3 separate regions of the Homo sapiens genome follow, and all the other regions are linked to region 1. Evidence: promoter capture Hi-C in 16 types of primary human blood cells and fetal thymus (Javierre and others, 2016). All regions are on one chromosome and are shown on one strand. Each heading gives the region's core, a stretch centred on a gene start or on the middle of the fragment in contact. The rest is flanking DNA. Distances are from core to core; before and after follow the strand shown.

Region 1 (5,047 bases), core at 1,899-4,398:
AGGGCACTCTGGCTGGCAAATGGAGGGATGTCATGAGGCACCAGGAAGGTGGCGACCAGCGCTGTGGGAGTGATCTGACTGCCTGTGTACACCAACACTGTGAACAGCACCATCACTTCTGTTACTATGTGGACCAGAACCTCCCTAAGCACTGTGCTGTCCACTTGAAAGCTAAACCCACCTGTCGTCTTCTTCAAGGACCCATCAACCTCGCTGTTGGGTCCCACTGTGAGATTAAAAGCTGCAAAGGTCAAGTTTTTCCTGACAAGGTACACTTCCGCTACATCAGGTGTGATCTCTAGCACACTACCGTTATCTGCAACTCCTGTCATTCTGAATCCAGACACCTCCACCGAAGTGTTTTCCTGATCATTTAACCAAGGAAAGAGGTCATTTGTGAAATCACAAAACATTGTAGAAATGGGACCATTTGCAGACAGACCAGGAACACTGCTCACATTGAGTGTTGGATAAAAACAATTTCTGCAGTGTTTCTCATTTCTGAAGAGCTGGTTGATACCCCACTTTTCAACTTTCTTGACATACATGTTGAAATTGGGGGTTCTCATTGAGGTGGTTTTGTTCCCTGGCACTTTATTAGCCAGTATTGTGTCTGATAGAGATTCTATTACATAGAAAGGATCTTTAACTACTTGGTGAGGAGAAGTCATTTTAAGAATATTAGACAAACTCATTAGTATTCCAGTACTCACGATTTCTATTTGTTCAGATCGAAAGCGTTTATCTTTTTGCTGATACTCTTGTAGGGCTTGATTTGCTTGCCATACCCTCATGGTGGCACGTTTCTGAGCATCCCAAGTGAATTCAGAGGGTTTCTGGGTTAATTTGGTAATAGTCATGACTACCTGGCCAATTTCTACCAAAGTGCTTACAGGAAGAAGGAAAGACTGATCGATGAGGTGTTTTCGGAGATTGACTCTGTCATCTCGGAGAGGTAATTCAGTTTTCATGTTATTCAAAACGGAAGCTACTATATACAGTAAGTAACCTGCAGGTAAAAAATCCTTCTTTTGAATCAAAGTAGACAGCAATGAACTTGGTCCCACGGTGAAACTGAGTAACTGATTCAACACTGTCTTTGATGAATTTTTGTCAGTGGGAGCCTGTGCGGTGGCATGCAAAGTCACCTGAGAAAAAGCTCCTAGAGAATCATAGACCTGGGCATATATCTTCAAGCCATATTGACTAGCCAACATACCAACAGGGAGAAAGGAAGGGGGTACTGTGGACTGAGGCCCCAAGTACAGGATGGTCCCCAGGGTGTTCTCTTTTACTGAACTGATTTCACCAACACTGTGCAAATCAGAAACAATTATTTTATATGTAAGAGGGACGTGCTTATCCCTAAAATTACTACACTGGACAACAAATTTAGTAATAAGTGCAATTCCTTTAGCTGGATTAATTTTGCATTCTCCGATCTGAGGGCCATGGTTAATAATAAAAGAATGCCTGAAGACCGAGGTCACTCCACTCCAACATGCTAGATACAGAGAAATCGAAAACTCAGCTTCCAAAAAATGCCGAAAAGCAAAAGCTTTTATAGACAGATAAGCACCATTCCTTCCTGTTACAGTTTCCCCCATCCAATCAAATAGCATCTCACCACCTGAAGAAGACAAAATTGACCATTTATAGAAATCACGGCTTGCACAATTTGTGCAATTTAGGAACAAAGAAAATCTATCAGAGACAATGAAGTTTCTCTCACAATTTTCGATACATGTGATGTGTGCTATGGCTTTTGGTCCTTGGAGCACGTGGACCCTCTTATCAGAAAACGCTGTCCTAGAGTCCTTCCGAATCACCATTCTGAAGAAATACACGTGGTCGCCTTTAAGTGTTTCTGGCAAAAGTGTCAGTACAGGGCCCGAGGCCCAGGGCCATTTCAGATTGGCCTGCTCGGGGTGACAGACTTCCTTGCTCCCCAGGATTATTCGATCCCCACCGTAGTTTCTGGGATCTGTGGTACAGTACCAAAAGAACTGGAGTCCCTGTAACGGGCTGTCCGCATCTGGGTCCGAGGACGTGGACCCGTCCAGAATCAGCTGCTCTGTGAAATTAGCTGTTATGTTGGCATCGCCAAGCATCACCGCCTGCAGGGAACTCCTGACGATCCAGACATAGACGGCGTCCGAGTCTTTCACCTCGGGCATCTTGGGGTTCCCTGTGGTGATGGACACCGTGAAATTAAACACATACACTCCCCACTGTAACGAATTATTGGGGATGTGAATGAACAAGGGGCTGTTCCTGATCTCGAGCTGGGGCAGATCCAAGGGCTGCGTCCAGTCGGGCGCCTGACCCACGGCGGGCACGGAGAACACCTGCCAGTACTGGGCGATGGCGCGCGCGGCCGGGCAGTCCAGCTGCACCGAGGCGTTGATGGTGGCCTCCGCCTGCATGCTCAGGCGCACGGGGGCGCCCTTCTGGTCCGTGTTGATCCTCACGCGCTGGATGACGCAGGCGTTTATCTGACAGGACACGGACGACTCGACGGCTCTGTGGCTGGACGAGTTGACGGCCTGCAACATCACGCGCGCGGGGCCGTCTGTGGGGCACTCGGTGCGGGCCACGAAGCCCTGCTGGGGCCGCGGGCCTGGCGCGGCGGAGCGCGGGGAGACGCGGGCCGCGGGGGAGGCCGGGCGGGCGGCGCCGGGTCCGAGCAGCCGCAGGCGGAAGGCCCAGGCCAGGCGCCCGGGCGAGCGCGGCAGCCGCACGGACCACGTCAGGGAGAGGCGGCCGCCGCGCGCGGAGAGCTGCAGGTCGACGAGCGCGAGCGCGGGCGCGGCCGGCCAGGGCAGGCGTTGGGCGCTGAGCAGGACGCGCAAGTCGAGGCAGTACCAGCGCCGCCCGGTCCCGCCATGGGGGAAGCAGAGGCTGCCGCGGCCGCTCAGGACAGCGCCGCCCGCCCGCACCGCGCTGGGCCGCAGACTGAGGAGGGCGCGGCCGCCGCGCACCCCGAGGCCCGGGGCGCCCCTGAGGAGGCCACCGGGCGCCCCGGAGACGGCGGCTTGTGCCCCGCGAGGAACCGGCGGCAGCGGGAGGCGGCCGACGCTCAGGCTCAGGCCCACGCCCAGAAGGAGGAGAGCGGGCCCAGGCCTCATGGCGCCGGCCCAGGAGAAGCTGGGAGAGGCCGCGAGGCGCGCCCAACCGCCACCGGGGTCGCGGGGATAGTGAGGGTCTTGGGGACAGTGGGGGTCTCGGGCGTCGAAGGGCGCTGGCAGAGGGGTCCCAGGGACAGAGTCCCAGAGAGCAGCTGGGACCTCGGAGCTTGGGGTCAGTCGGCACTGGGGACTTCTTGGGTACCTCTTCCCTCTCCGTCCCCAAGTGTGTGCAGGCCCAGGGTCAGGATGGCTCAGGAGGGCAGTTCAGCCCCGTGCAGACCACAGAGCTGACCACGGAGAAGGGGCTTCAGCAGGAACCCTTGGGAAAGCCAGTCACAAAATGGGAGATCAGGAGGGAACCGTGAGATCCCTGGGCGCCCAGGAAGGTCTGACTCTCGGTTTCTTACTTTGGGGTCGCTTTGCTCTTTTCTTTCTAGTTGGTTTGGGGGTTTTGTTTTTTGTTTGTTTGTTTGTTTGTTTGTTTTTTGAGACGGAGTCTCTGTCACCCAGGCTGGAGTGCAATGGCTTGACCTCAAGTGATCCACCCACCTCGGCCTCCCAAAGTGCTGGGATTACAGGCATGAGCCACTGTGCCTGGCCTCATTCTTTAACTCTGTCCATTTTTGCTGTATATTTTGGGACTTGATTGATGGATTGAATGATTTTAGAGACAGGGTCTTGCTCTGTTGCCCAGGCTGGAGTGCAATGGTGCAATCATAGCTGACTGTAACCTTGAACTCCTGGGCTCAAGGAATCCTCCTGCCTCAGCCTCCCATACTACAGGTCTACACCACTACACCTGACTGATTTATTTTTTATTTTTGTAGAGATGGTGTCTTGCTGTGTTTCACAGGCTGGTCTCAAACTCGTGGTCTTAATTGGCCCTCCCCTGTATTAGTCCGTTTTCATGCTGCTGATAAAGACATAACCAAGACTGGGAAGAAAAAGAGGTTTAATTGGACTTACAGTTCCATATGGCTGGGGAGGCCTCAGAATCATGGCAGGAGGCAAAAAGCACTTCTTGCATGGCAGTGGCAAGAGAAAATGAGGAAGACGCAAAAGCGGAAACCCCTGATAAAAGCATCAGATCTCCTGAGACTTATTCACTACCACAGAACAATATGGGGGAAACTGCCCCTGTGATTCAGTTATCTCCCACCCGGTCCCTCCCACAACATGTGGGAATTATGGGACTATAAGATGAGATTTGGGTGGGGACACAGAGCCAAACTATATCATTCCACCCCTGCCAAATCTCATCTCCTCACATTTCAAAACCAATCATGCCTTCCCAACAGTCCTCCAAAGTCTTAACTCATTTCACATTAACTCAAAAGTCCACAGTCCAAAGTCCTGTCTGAGACAAAGGAAGTCGCTTATGCTTATGAGCCTGTAAAATCAAAAGCAACTGGCTGGGCGCAGTGGCTCACCCTGTAATCCCAGCACTTCGGGAGGCTGAAGCGGGCAGATCACCTGAGCTTGGGAGTTTGAGACCAGCCTGACCAACATGGAGAAACCCCATCTCTACTAAAAATACAAAATTAGCCGGGTGTGGTGGTGCATGCCTGTAATCCCAGCTACTCGGGAGGCTGAGGCAGGAGAATCGCTTGAACCCGGGAAGCAGAGGTTGCGGTGAGCCAAGATCGTGTCATTGCACTCCAGCCTGGGCAACAGGAACGAAACTCTGTCTCAAAAAACAGAAAAAAAATCAAAAGCAAGTTAGTTATTTCCTAGATACAGTGGGGTACAGACATTGGGTAAAGACAACCATTCCAAATGGGAGAAATTGGCCAAACAAAGGAGTTATAGGGCCCATGCAAGTCTGAAATCCAGTGGGGCAGTCAAATCCTAAAGCTCCAAAATTATCTCCTTTGACTTCATGTCTCAAATCCAGCTCATGCTGATGCAAGAGGTGGGTT
Region 2 (5,047 bases), core at 793-3,292, 280 kb before region 1:
ACAGAGATTTTTCCCAGTGAGCCTGGCCCCATCACGCAAGCCCTTTCCAGGCGCAGTTTTTACTGACTTGTGGCCAAAGGGCCATTCAGAGGGCTGTGAAGCATGAGAAGCCCTGTCATCGCTAGCTTCGGAGATGGAGGGGCCTTGAAGTGAGGAATGTAGGAGCTCTCTGAGCTGAGAGTGGCCCCTGGCTGACAGCTGACCAGGAAATGGGCACCTCAGTCCTACAGCCACAGGGAACTGAATTCTACCAACAGCCCAAATGAGCTTGGAAGAGGATCCCTTCCAAAGCCTCCAGATAAGATCCAGCCCTGGGATGCCTTGATTGCAGCCTTGGGAGACCCTGAGCAGTGCAGGCATCCACGCCAGGCTGGAGTTCTTAAGTACAGAACTGTGAGCTAATAAATAGATGTGGTTGTAAGCCGCTCAGTTCGTAGTAATATATACACACTATAAAACAAACACAGGAGGGCTTGGCCATGTGGCGATGGGGAGCAGAAGTTGAAATGATGGAGCCCTGTGAGCAATGGCTCCTGGAGGCCCAGCAGGTTATGGAGCAGAGGAAAGGGGGAGGCAAGGGCACACGCACAGACAGCCGGAGTGCCAGGCTAAGGAGCAGGACGTTACTTATGGTCACTGGGGAGCTACTGAAGATTTTGAGAGAGGGGGGCACCAGAGGTGGGCCCTGGATGGAGTGTCCCCAGCTTGCCTGACCAGCCAATTTTTAGCATTACCACAGGCCCACTTCTCCGAAATATCTCAGGGAAGGGGCTAGGAATCTGAATGTTTAATCAACACCCAGGTGGCTCCAGAGATCAAGCACAATTGGCAAATGATAGTTCTGGCAAACGTGTAAACTGCAGAAAGTTCCGTGGGAAGGTCCACACCCCAAGTCCTCTCAGTGTACACCCTGAGCCCCTAGGGGGTTCCCAGCCCTTGCCAAGGGAGGTGGAGGGCTCCTAGGGGAGAAGCAGTCCCTCCCAGGAGGGACAGAGTCCCCACTGGGGATGGGGAGCAGGGGCCACCTGGGGAGGAGGCTGCGGGCGTCAGATGATTTCCAGCAGGAGCCTGTGTGTGCCCACCAGGACCCCTCATCCAGAGAAGGGCAGACAGAGCTCTGGCATTTCTGGAGGGAGAATGAGGAGCCCCCAAAGGCAAATCCAGGAGCTTGACCCAATTCAGGGCAGAAGCTAAGGGATATCCAAGAGCCCAGGGAGCAGAAGGAGGGGGTGAGCACCAGTGACGGCAGTGGCTGCTCCAAGATGGCCTCCCACTGCCATCACACAGACTGCAGCAGGGAGGCATGGCCAGGGCCGCATACTCCATGGAGCAGGCCGGAGCCCCACCCTCCTAGGTGGGGCTGCAGCCGCCCAAATTGTGGCTGCAGATCTGAGCATCCCTGTGCTCTTGGGACAGGAGCAGGCAAGAGCCCTACCCTCCCAGGCACAGCTGCAGCCACCAAAACTGTAGCTGCAGACTCAGGAATTTCTGCACTCAGGGACCTGGGAAGGCCCCCACTGCCCTTGCAGGCTTGGAAGTGCCTGTTCCCACTGCCTGGCTTTTCCCTGCCGTCAGTGCCTGCTTTGATCTCAAAGCAAAGTCAGGGCCAAGCCCTGGTGCCATGAATGGCAGCAGGAGGCAGGCACATTCCTGGGAGGAAGGGGACGGGTCCCCCGTGAGGCTCCACCTTTAGGGCCAGGGAGGGCCTGAAGGCTGGAGGCTGGGCTTCCAGTCCCACCAACCTGAATGGGAATTTGTGGTGCCTTTTCTGGGCCTGCCCATGGCTACCCATGGACCAATCTGCATGCACTTTCTCCCCTCTGAGGCCCATAAAAACCCTGGGCTCAGCCAGAGCTGAGCAGATTACAAGTTGATCAGCTGCTGAGAGGAGCTACCCTCTCTGCTGAGAGCTTCAGAGACCTGAGGAGATGTCAGAATAACCTGCCTGCAGAGAGGCACTACCCTCTCTGGGGCTTCCTCTCTGCGGAGAGCTGAACACTCGATGGGACAACCTGCCTAGAAAGAGGAGCTACCCACTGCAGGTCTCCTCTGAGCTGTTCTAATACTCAATAAAGCTCCTCTTTGTCTTGCTTACCCTCTACTTGTCTGCATACCTCATTCTTCCTGGATGCAGGACAAAAACTCAGGCAAAGACGCCACTGGTCACAGAGGTTTCCAGCTAAAAAGACGACACCCAAAAGATCCTGTAACACCAGGAGCTAGCATGGGTTCACTGGGAATGAAATGTGTAGGCTCCCTGTGACTTCTGACCTCTGTGAGGGTCATGAACCCAGGAGGTGAGGCATTTGACAGGGAGGCTCGGGACTGCCTCATAGACAAACTCACATCACATCTTCTATGTTAAAACAAATGCTCTGTGTCTCTAACAAAAGTCCTCTCCAGGACCAGGAGAGCTGAGGTCAGGCTGCCCAGCACATCCAGCTGCACCTTGACCAAAACTCCAGGCTGCCTGAGCCTGGCAGTCAGCCGAGAGAGGAGGTGATGAGGGCCAGGTGTGCTGAGTGAGGCTGAGGCAGGGGCGAGCCCCCATCTCTGCAGATGAGGATCTGGAGTCCAGGTGAGGCCTGGTCTGCGCTTGTCCATGAACCCCTTCCTCGGTAGGAGAGCCAAGGACCTGAGTCTGGAGAGGGATGCTCCTGGCCCTCCCTGACCCCAACATACAATCACTCCTCGCCTGTGGCAACCGACCAGCACCGCCCTGATGGGGCAGCTCCAGGACCCTGGCTAAGCTGGGTTTGCTGGTGGGCAAAAGCAATGTGCCCTGGGCAGTCCTTTACCTCCTCCTTCCATGAGGGTCACTTTGACCTCCACCCTGCACTGATGACTGCTGGTGGAAGATCCAGGTTTGAGCTTTGAGGGAGGAGGAGGGAAGGCCCTTTCCAGTGCCTCCCACCACAGAATGAAGAGTCCTTTGATTTCCTGCTTGAGTCCCCCATGGGGAGAAGATGGATGCCCAAGGCTGAATCTGAGCCTTCCAGAGTTCCCTGCATAAAGCCCACCCTCTAAAAGTGCCACGACCCAGTGGGACTAACCTAGCACATGATGCCAGAGTGCCCAGCACCCAGGGCTGAGGCTGGGTTAGGCCACAAAGGCCACCGAAAGCCAGGCCACCATTTGGACCTCATCCTTCTAGGCAAGGGCCCGACACCGAGCACTCAGCTGCCTGTCTCCGCTGGGGCTTCTTGTGGCTGCACCATGGGCATTCAGGGCAGGATCGTTCCCTGTGGTGGGGACCGTCTGTGCCCGGTAGGATGTTCAGCAGCGTCTCTGGCCTCTGCCCACTAGACGCTTTTAGCACACAGCATCCCCTGAGGTATGACAACAAAACGTATCCCCAGACATTGCCAAATGTCTCCCGGGGAGCAGAATTGGCTCCAGTTGAGAACCACTGGTCTAAGATATGAGCGTTGGACTTTTTGGTGTGGAGGACCCAGATTCTATTCATCCTGTTTCGTGGACACCCCCAGGACAGGGACCGGGTGGCCAGGCTTAAGCTGAGCCACAGGCACATCTGAGCTCCTGCTTGCAGGAATCAGAACAGCCCAAATAAACAATTTCGTTTTAAGCAAACCTGCAGCCACGATCCTACCTGTCAGGGTGATCTCCTGAAAGTCATGGGGTGTCTGTTTTAGTCTTGGGCACCAAGAGTCACAGCCCCAGGGCTGACCACTGATGGCATCGACGCCTGGAAACTGGCCTGCTTCCCCCACACCACACAGGACCCATGAACGACCAAGAACCACTGATCTGGTCTGAACCTCTTGCTTTAAGGGTGGGAAGGCCGAGACCCAGGGAGGCTGCCAGGGTCACACAGTCATCAAGCAGGGGTTTGAGCCCCAGCATGCTAGCCCCAGGAGCCAGGAACTCTGGTGCTGACAGTGGGGTTCCCCAGGGCTGTTTCGCCATCTCCTACTGGGTGACTACAGCTGGCAGATCTGGCATCAGACCCACGGCCTGGGGTCCCTGGCTGGACCATACAATCTTCCTTCCCTGCAGGGGCCGCCTAGGGAGGTTGGCACACAGACCTGGACTCCTTAGCCCCTCTCCACAGGGGTCCCCATTTCAGCCTGAGAATGCACACAGGCCATCAGGAGGCAGTGGCCAGGGCGTGAGGGTGGGCTCCAACCCAGGCCCAGAAAATGCCTTCATAGCTGTAAGGCTATACAGCTGCGGAAGACTTCGGGCAACAGCTCAGACTGAGTCCAATTCGAACCCGGGCCTTCCGTGTACACGCCGTGGGATTCGGGCAAATCATTCCTCTCCAGGACACCTCAACCAAAGGTGTGAATGTCCACATCACCGGGAGGTTTAAGGAGGTAACACCATCTACCCAGCAGGGTGCTGGGGGGCCTCCTCGGGAGCTGTCACAGCTGATCCTGGGTCCACAGTGAACAGAAAGTGGGTGTTGGGGGCAGAGTCTGGAGACGGGGACAGTGGACCACCAGGCTCTGTGACCCCGAGCCTCAGCTTCCCCATCTGTGAAAGGACACCCAGCACCTTGATCTGTGGGCGCATGAAGCCCTAAGTGAGGGCCTGGCACACGCTAAGTGTTCAGCTCAACCAGCGAGTCACACTAACTGCGGAGACCAGGGCATTGCCAGGATTACTGGAGTTTGAAGGCCACATTTGCAGTGATCCCACCTGGGCTGGGGCTGATTGCTCTTCAGAGTTGCTGTGCCCAAAGGAGGGAGCAGATGGCACGTCAGGGAGGCAGCCCAGCCGTCACCCCCTTCAGGTGGGCAGCCAGGGTCCCTAGGGAGGCGCTAGGTGGAGGGCATAGGTGAGACACCCCATGGAAGCAGGCAGTAAGAAAGTCCAGGCCAAGGCCAGGGACAGGGCCTAACCTCTGAGACAGTGGGTCCTGCCCATGTACCCTATTTCCTGGCTGCCTGAGACCACAAAGAGCTGCAGCTCCCGAACACTCCCCACTTCTAATGCACTCTTAGCTGTACCCTGAGTGCAGCATCCTGGGCCACCTCTCAGCGCTTGAGGTGCCTTTGCCCTCCCTGCCTGGTGGGAAATGGGT
Region 3 (5,047 bases), core at 1,176-3,675, 260 kb before region 1:
GCTGCTTTGAGACGGTCACTGCCCTCGTGCTGGCTCAGTGGGGACAGGGCTGCAGGGTCTAACTCCAGAAAGACTCGGCCCCAGCAGGGGAGCTGGCGCCAACCAGACAGCTGAATCAACAGCCACCGCCATGGGTCCAGGCCCCCTGCAGCCTGGCGGCCCCACACGCAGGACTGGGGGCTGCTCAAGGCCAAGGGTGGGGCTGTACTCCTCAGTGGTGACGGCAGCAGCCCCCTACCCCCTTGCCCACCCTGGCTCCTGTGTCCCACAGTGAGGTCTCTCCGGTGCACAGCCTGGGTGAGGGGTTGGTGGGTCCAGATGGCACATTCAGACCCTACATCCCCAGCCTAGCAGAGCAGGGGGCGTCAAAGGGGAAGGAGCAGTGGGGGGAGGAACGAGGGGTGGGGGTGTGCTTTGGAAGCCTTGAGAGTTGCCCTGAAGGCTTGAACCGCCCCCAGGGCCAGCAGGAGAGCCATTACCATAACCAGGCAGGGTCCCCTTTTAAGAAAACTGCCCTGGTGGGCTGGTTGCGGTGGCTCACGCCTGTAATCCCAGCACTTTGGGAGGCTGAAGCAGGCAGATCACGAGGTCAGGAGTTCGAGACCAGCCTGACCAGCATGGTGAAACCCCATCTCTACTAAAAGTACAAATAATTAGCCGGGCATGGTGGCGCGTGCTTGTAGTCTCAGCTACTCAGGAGGCTGAGGCAGGAGAATTGCTTGAACCCGGCAGGCGGAGGTTGCAGTGAGCCGAGATCGTGCCACCGCACTTCGGCCTGGGCGAGTGAGACTCCGTCTCAAAAAAAAAAAAAAGAAAAGAAAAAGAAAACTGCCCTGGTGGCCACTGATGGAGAAATGGAGGGACAGAGGCCAGGGAGGGAGACTCTCGCTGGGGCATGGAGGGCTTCCGGGCAACAGTGCAGCCCAAACAGAGTGGGCCTTGGCCAGAGGTGGACAAAGCCAGATGCTGAGGGTGGGGTGGGCACAGCGAGAGGCAGCCACACTAGCTGCTCCCGCTGGGCCAGGCCTGGTGGATGGTGTCATCCTCCCTCACATTCCTGGATCTCAGGGACACCACTTCCCCAGGCTCAAGCAGCTGAGTCATGAGTGTCCTCCCTTCAGGGGACCCAGCCATTGGCTTGGGTAGATTAGTTCTGATTTAACCCCAAAATAATGACTTAGTGGCTTTCCTAACTGCAGCCAGCTTTGCAGGGCCTCCGAGCTTTCAGGCCACCTCCCCTCCCAGATGCCCTTGAGCTGGACCTGAGAAGACCCGCCCAGAGGAAGGCGAGGAAGACTCCACAGGGGTGACAGGGGCCCAGACACCCCCTATCTGCATCAGGACCCATGTGAGCAGAGCTCACCCTGTTGTCGCCCTGGGCACTGTGGCCATCTGCCAAGGGACAGATAGATGGACCTTCCTAGTCCTCAGGCCTCAGGCCATCCACAGGGTAAACCCACATCCACCCACATCTCCTGGAGCCTCCCCCGCCTGGGAATGGGAGCGAATGACCCCATCACACTGGTCTGATGGATGAGTGAGCAGCACCCAGGAGGCCGGACGCGGGAGGCTTGGCCTGGCCGGCAGGGAGTGGGCGCCCTGGGCTGGGACCGGGTTTCCTGCTCCCCTCTGTCTAGGCTTTTCCTGGGGGACCTGGCCTTGGAGGCCAGCGCCTGAGGGCCCCGCAAGACAGTCAGTCTTGCTGTCACTCCCAATGCCATCTTGTGTCCCCTCTCCCCAGACCCCTCTGCTCTGGGAGACTGGTGAGTGAACACCTCGTGAGGTGCATCCTGTGTGGGCAGGATTCCGACCAAGTGCTCCGACGTGGAAGGAAAGAATGCACACTCAGGCAATCTGGGTGTGACCACCTTGCTGTCCTGCGATCTAGGGGATGAGAGGAGGTGACAAGGCCCAAGGGGGTCATGCCGCAGACATGCCCAGGCCCGGCCTGTGTGGTCAGCTGAGGGTCCTTTAGCTGCCCGTCTACTGTCCTCAGGTAGGATGCCTCGTGCTGGGAGCCAGGCCGCCCAGCACCCTTCCAGCCTCTGCTGACTCCAGCTGTGTGTCGTCGGGCATCTTACTCAACCTCTCTGTTTCTTGTCCTTCTGCGCCTAGGGTCATGATAGACCTTGCTTCCCAGCAAGCATGGAAGAGGCTGCGAAGAACAGCTGGTGCCCAGGAAACTGGGAAGCCCTGGCTAGGTCTCAGTGCTGTGGCTGCTGGTGTTCACACCATGGGCCAATGCTAGGGATTCACAGAGGCAGGGGATGGGGTCCCTGCTCCAGGGTTCTCCCAGTCTGAGGGGCAGACATGTGACTGATGTCAACTCTCCTGGGTGGCCTGGGGTGAGAGAGAGTGACTCATCCCTGGGTGCCTTGGGGACGGTGGCCCTAGGAGGGGACTCCCCTGGCCCTGAAGAGTTGTGTGGCATCCCAGGTAGAGGGGCTGGAGGGGTAAAGCCCACCGCCATGCTCCGAGCACGCTGAGGGCTTGGTGTGAGAGTGTGGTGGATGTGGGTTGGGTGGGCTGCGAGGCCTCCAGCCTCCCACCTGCCTGCCTTTATTGATTTCCAGGGATTCAGGACCTCAGACGCTGGGCCGGTGACAGGCCCCTGGGATTCTGGTCGCAGTCCAAAGGGTCTCTGGCCACCCTGGGCCTGATCAAGTCCTCCCTCTATCTGGATCTATTTCTCCGTCACCAAAAGTTGGCACTTGGGTTTAGTGGCTGACAGCCCTTCTGATTCTAACAGGAAGTGGCTCTGCAGGGTTCCGTCACGCACGCGCTGTGCTGGGGGTCCAGGAGAGGGCTCTAGGAGTCGGACGGTTGGTGGGGGAGGATGGAGTCTGGCTGCAGAGCCCAAGCATGTTTTGTGGGGGCCCGGCGGGTGAAGGGTGTCACAGCGATGGAGGTGCAAGGTGATAGATGAGAGAGGCAGTCCCAGCACAGGAACCCAAGCAGGCAGCACCTGCATGGCATGGCTCTCCCGCCCTCCATTCGCGGGGCGGCCTCCCATCCTCCATTCTGATGGTGACATTGAAAATGAAACGCCAGGACCCCAGCACCTGCATGGTGTGGCCCTTCCGTCCTCCATTCTTTTTTCTTTTACTTTTTTCTTTTTTTTTTTTTTTTTGAGACAGAGTCTTGCCCTGTCGCACAGGTTGGAGTGCAGTGGTGTGATCTCAGCTCACTGCAACCTCCGCCTCCCGAGTTCAAGCGATTCTTCTGCCTCATTCTCCCAAGTAGCTGAGACTACAGGCACCTGCCACCATGCTTGGCTAATTTTTGTGTTTTTAGGAGAGACGGGGTTTCACCATGTTGGCCAGGCTGGCCTCGAACTCCTGACCTCAGGTGATCCGCCTGCCTCGGCCTCCCAAAATGCTGGGATTACAGGCATGAGCCACCACGCCCGGCCTCCATCCACCCTTCTGATGGTGACATTGGAAATGCCAGGACCCCAGGGGTTCAGGTGGCCAACCCAGCTTCCAATCCACCCGTGTAGCCCCATGTGCCATGCCTTGGGTAGGTTGCCAGGGTTCTGAGCCTCTCCCTCCTTGTGTGAAAGCCCCTCTCCTGGATCTGGGCAGAGGGTGTGCACAGCCTCTGGAAGTGGCCTGGCGGGCGTGGGGGCTCAGTGAGCACAGGGCCTGGGCTTGCAGGTGAAGCCCGAGGAGGTGGTATGGCTCCACCTGGCTGCCCTGGGGACCCAAGGTGCGGGCATGGGCACTGGCCCTCTGCCCCAGGAGAACGGCTGCCGGCCTTGACATCTTGGCGCCTCCCCCGCTCCCTCAGCCCTGTCCCCTGCACCTAGGGCCCTGTAGGGGCATCCCAAACTGGCACCTTATTCCCGTGAACTGGGCCCTTCTCTTCAGTTTCCCTCAGTTAGGAAGCCAGGTCCCGTCTTTCTTTCTTTCTTTTTTTTTTTTTTTTTTTGAGACAGTCCAGCTCTGTCGGCCAGGCTGGAGTGCAGTGGCATGATCTCAGCTCACTGCAACCTCCATCTCCTGGGCTCAAGCAATTCTCCTGCCTCAGCCTCCTGAGTAGCTGGGATTACAGGTGTGTGCCACCATGCCCAGCTAAGTTTTGTATTTTTAGTAGAGACAAGGTTTCACCACGTTGGCCAGGCTGGTCAAGAACTCCTGACCTCAGGTAATCCGCCCGCCTCGGCCTCCCAAAGTGCTGGGATTACAGGCGTGAGCCACTGTGCCCGGCCACCAGGTCCCATTTTAGTGACCACCCCCACACCCCGAAGAATAATAAGCCTCGACCTTCCCCACCCACTCCTCCCCTCCTAGAGCCTGAAGCCCCAGGTGGCTGTTGACTGGAGGGGAGGGGAGCACTTTCCACTGGAATATCTGACTTCAAACCTCTCCGGCCCCAGCTTCCTGCAGGCTCTGCCCCCTGAAACTGACAACCCAGCTGTGAAGCGGCAAACATGATCATCCCTCTCTTGTGTGTGGGAGGGGTGAAGATTCAATGAAATATCACAAGTGACACTCTCACCCAGGGCTCCCAGAGAGGGTGGCCCCAGCCCTACGACACCCATGGCCCCAGGGGAGCTCATGACTTTGAGGGTGTCGGTGACCCTGGGGGTGCCCTGGCTCTGGACTGGGCCACCATGTGTCACTGCAGCCACCAGGGGGCAGCAGAGGGGAGCTGTTCTGCTTTCAGGAGCTGGTGCCTGTGCTTCCTGCAAGGAGGGGGGACAAGAAGGCCCCCGGGGTCACTCGAGGCCAGCAGAGGAGTCCAGACTCCGATCCCAGCTCCACTGCTGCCTCCCGCACGCCTGGAGCCAGCCCGGCCCTCATCTGTGCACGCAGGGTGTGCTGCACCCCACCAGGCATCTCCAACTCGGAGATTCAGCTGCAGCCCTGGCCGTCAGACCCACGGGCCCTGAAGTCCAGGGGGCCCTCTCGCCCGCCTCCTGTCTGCAGATGGGGAAATTGAGGCCCAGCCAGGGCAGGGGATTTGCCGACGTTTCGCAACAAATTCGAGTCAGAAATAGGCCCAGCTGGGCCTGCCGGCGCGGAGGCCCGCTCGGGACACTGCT

What was found. The method cuts DNA at HindIII sites, captures the fragments that hold promoters and counts their contacts. A CHiCAGO score of 5 or more calls a contact.
Region 2: a fragment that was not itself captured here is called in contact with the fragment with the promoter of PKDREJ in region 1 in 1 of 17 cell types (neutrophils); the score reaches 5.1 in neutrophils.
Region 3: a fragment that was not itself captured here is called in contact with the fragment with the promoter of PKDREJ in region 1 in 5 of 17 cell types (neutrophils, megakaryocytes, M0 macrophages and 2 more); the score reaches 10.6 in neutrophils.

The regions. Positions count from the first base shown.
Region 1 is chr22:46,260,195-46,265,241 of GRCh38, forward strand. PKDREJ (polycystin family receptor for egg jelly) reads right to left here and starts at 3,149. Exons shown (of 1, transcript NM_006071.2): 1 at 1-3,149. The coding sequence starts at 3,128. The HindIII fragment of the contact is 7,014 bases long and covers 1,557-5,047 here.
Region 2 is chr22:45,986,004-45,991,050 of GRCh38, forward strand. No RefSeq gene overlaps it. Among named protein-coding and RNA genes, the nearest start is that of WNT7B, 11 kb to the left of the region's middle. RefSeq lists enhancers at 857-1,357, 1,358-1,858. The HindIII fragment of the contact is 8,373 bases long and covers 1-5,047 here.
Region 3 is chr22:46,001,881-46,006,927 of GRCh38, forward strand. It overlaps the pseudogene LOC730668. Among named protein-coding and RNA genes, the nearest start is that of WNT7B, 27 kb to the left of the region's middle. RefSeq lists an enhancer at 4,397-5,047. The HindIII fragment of the contact is 8,534 bases long and covers 1-5,047 here.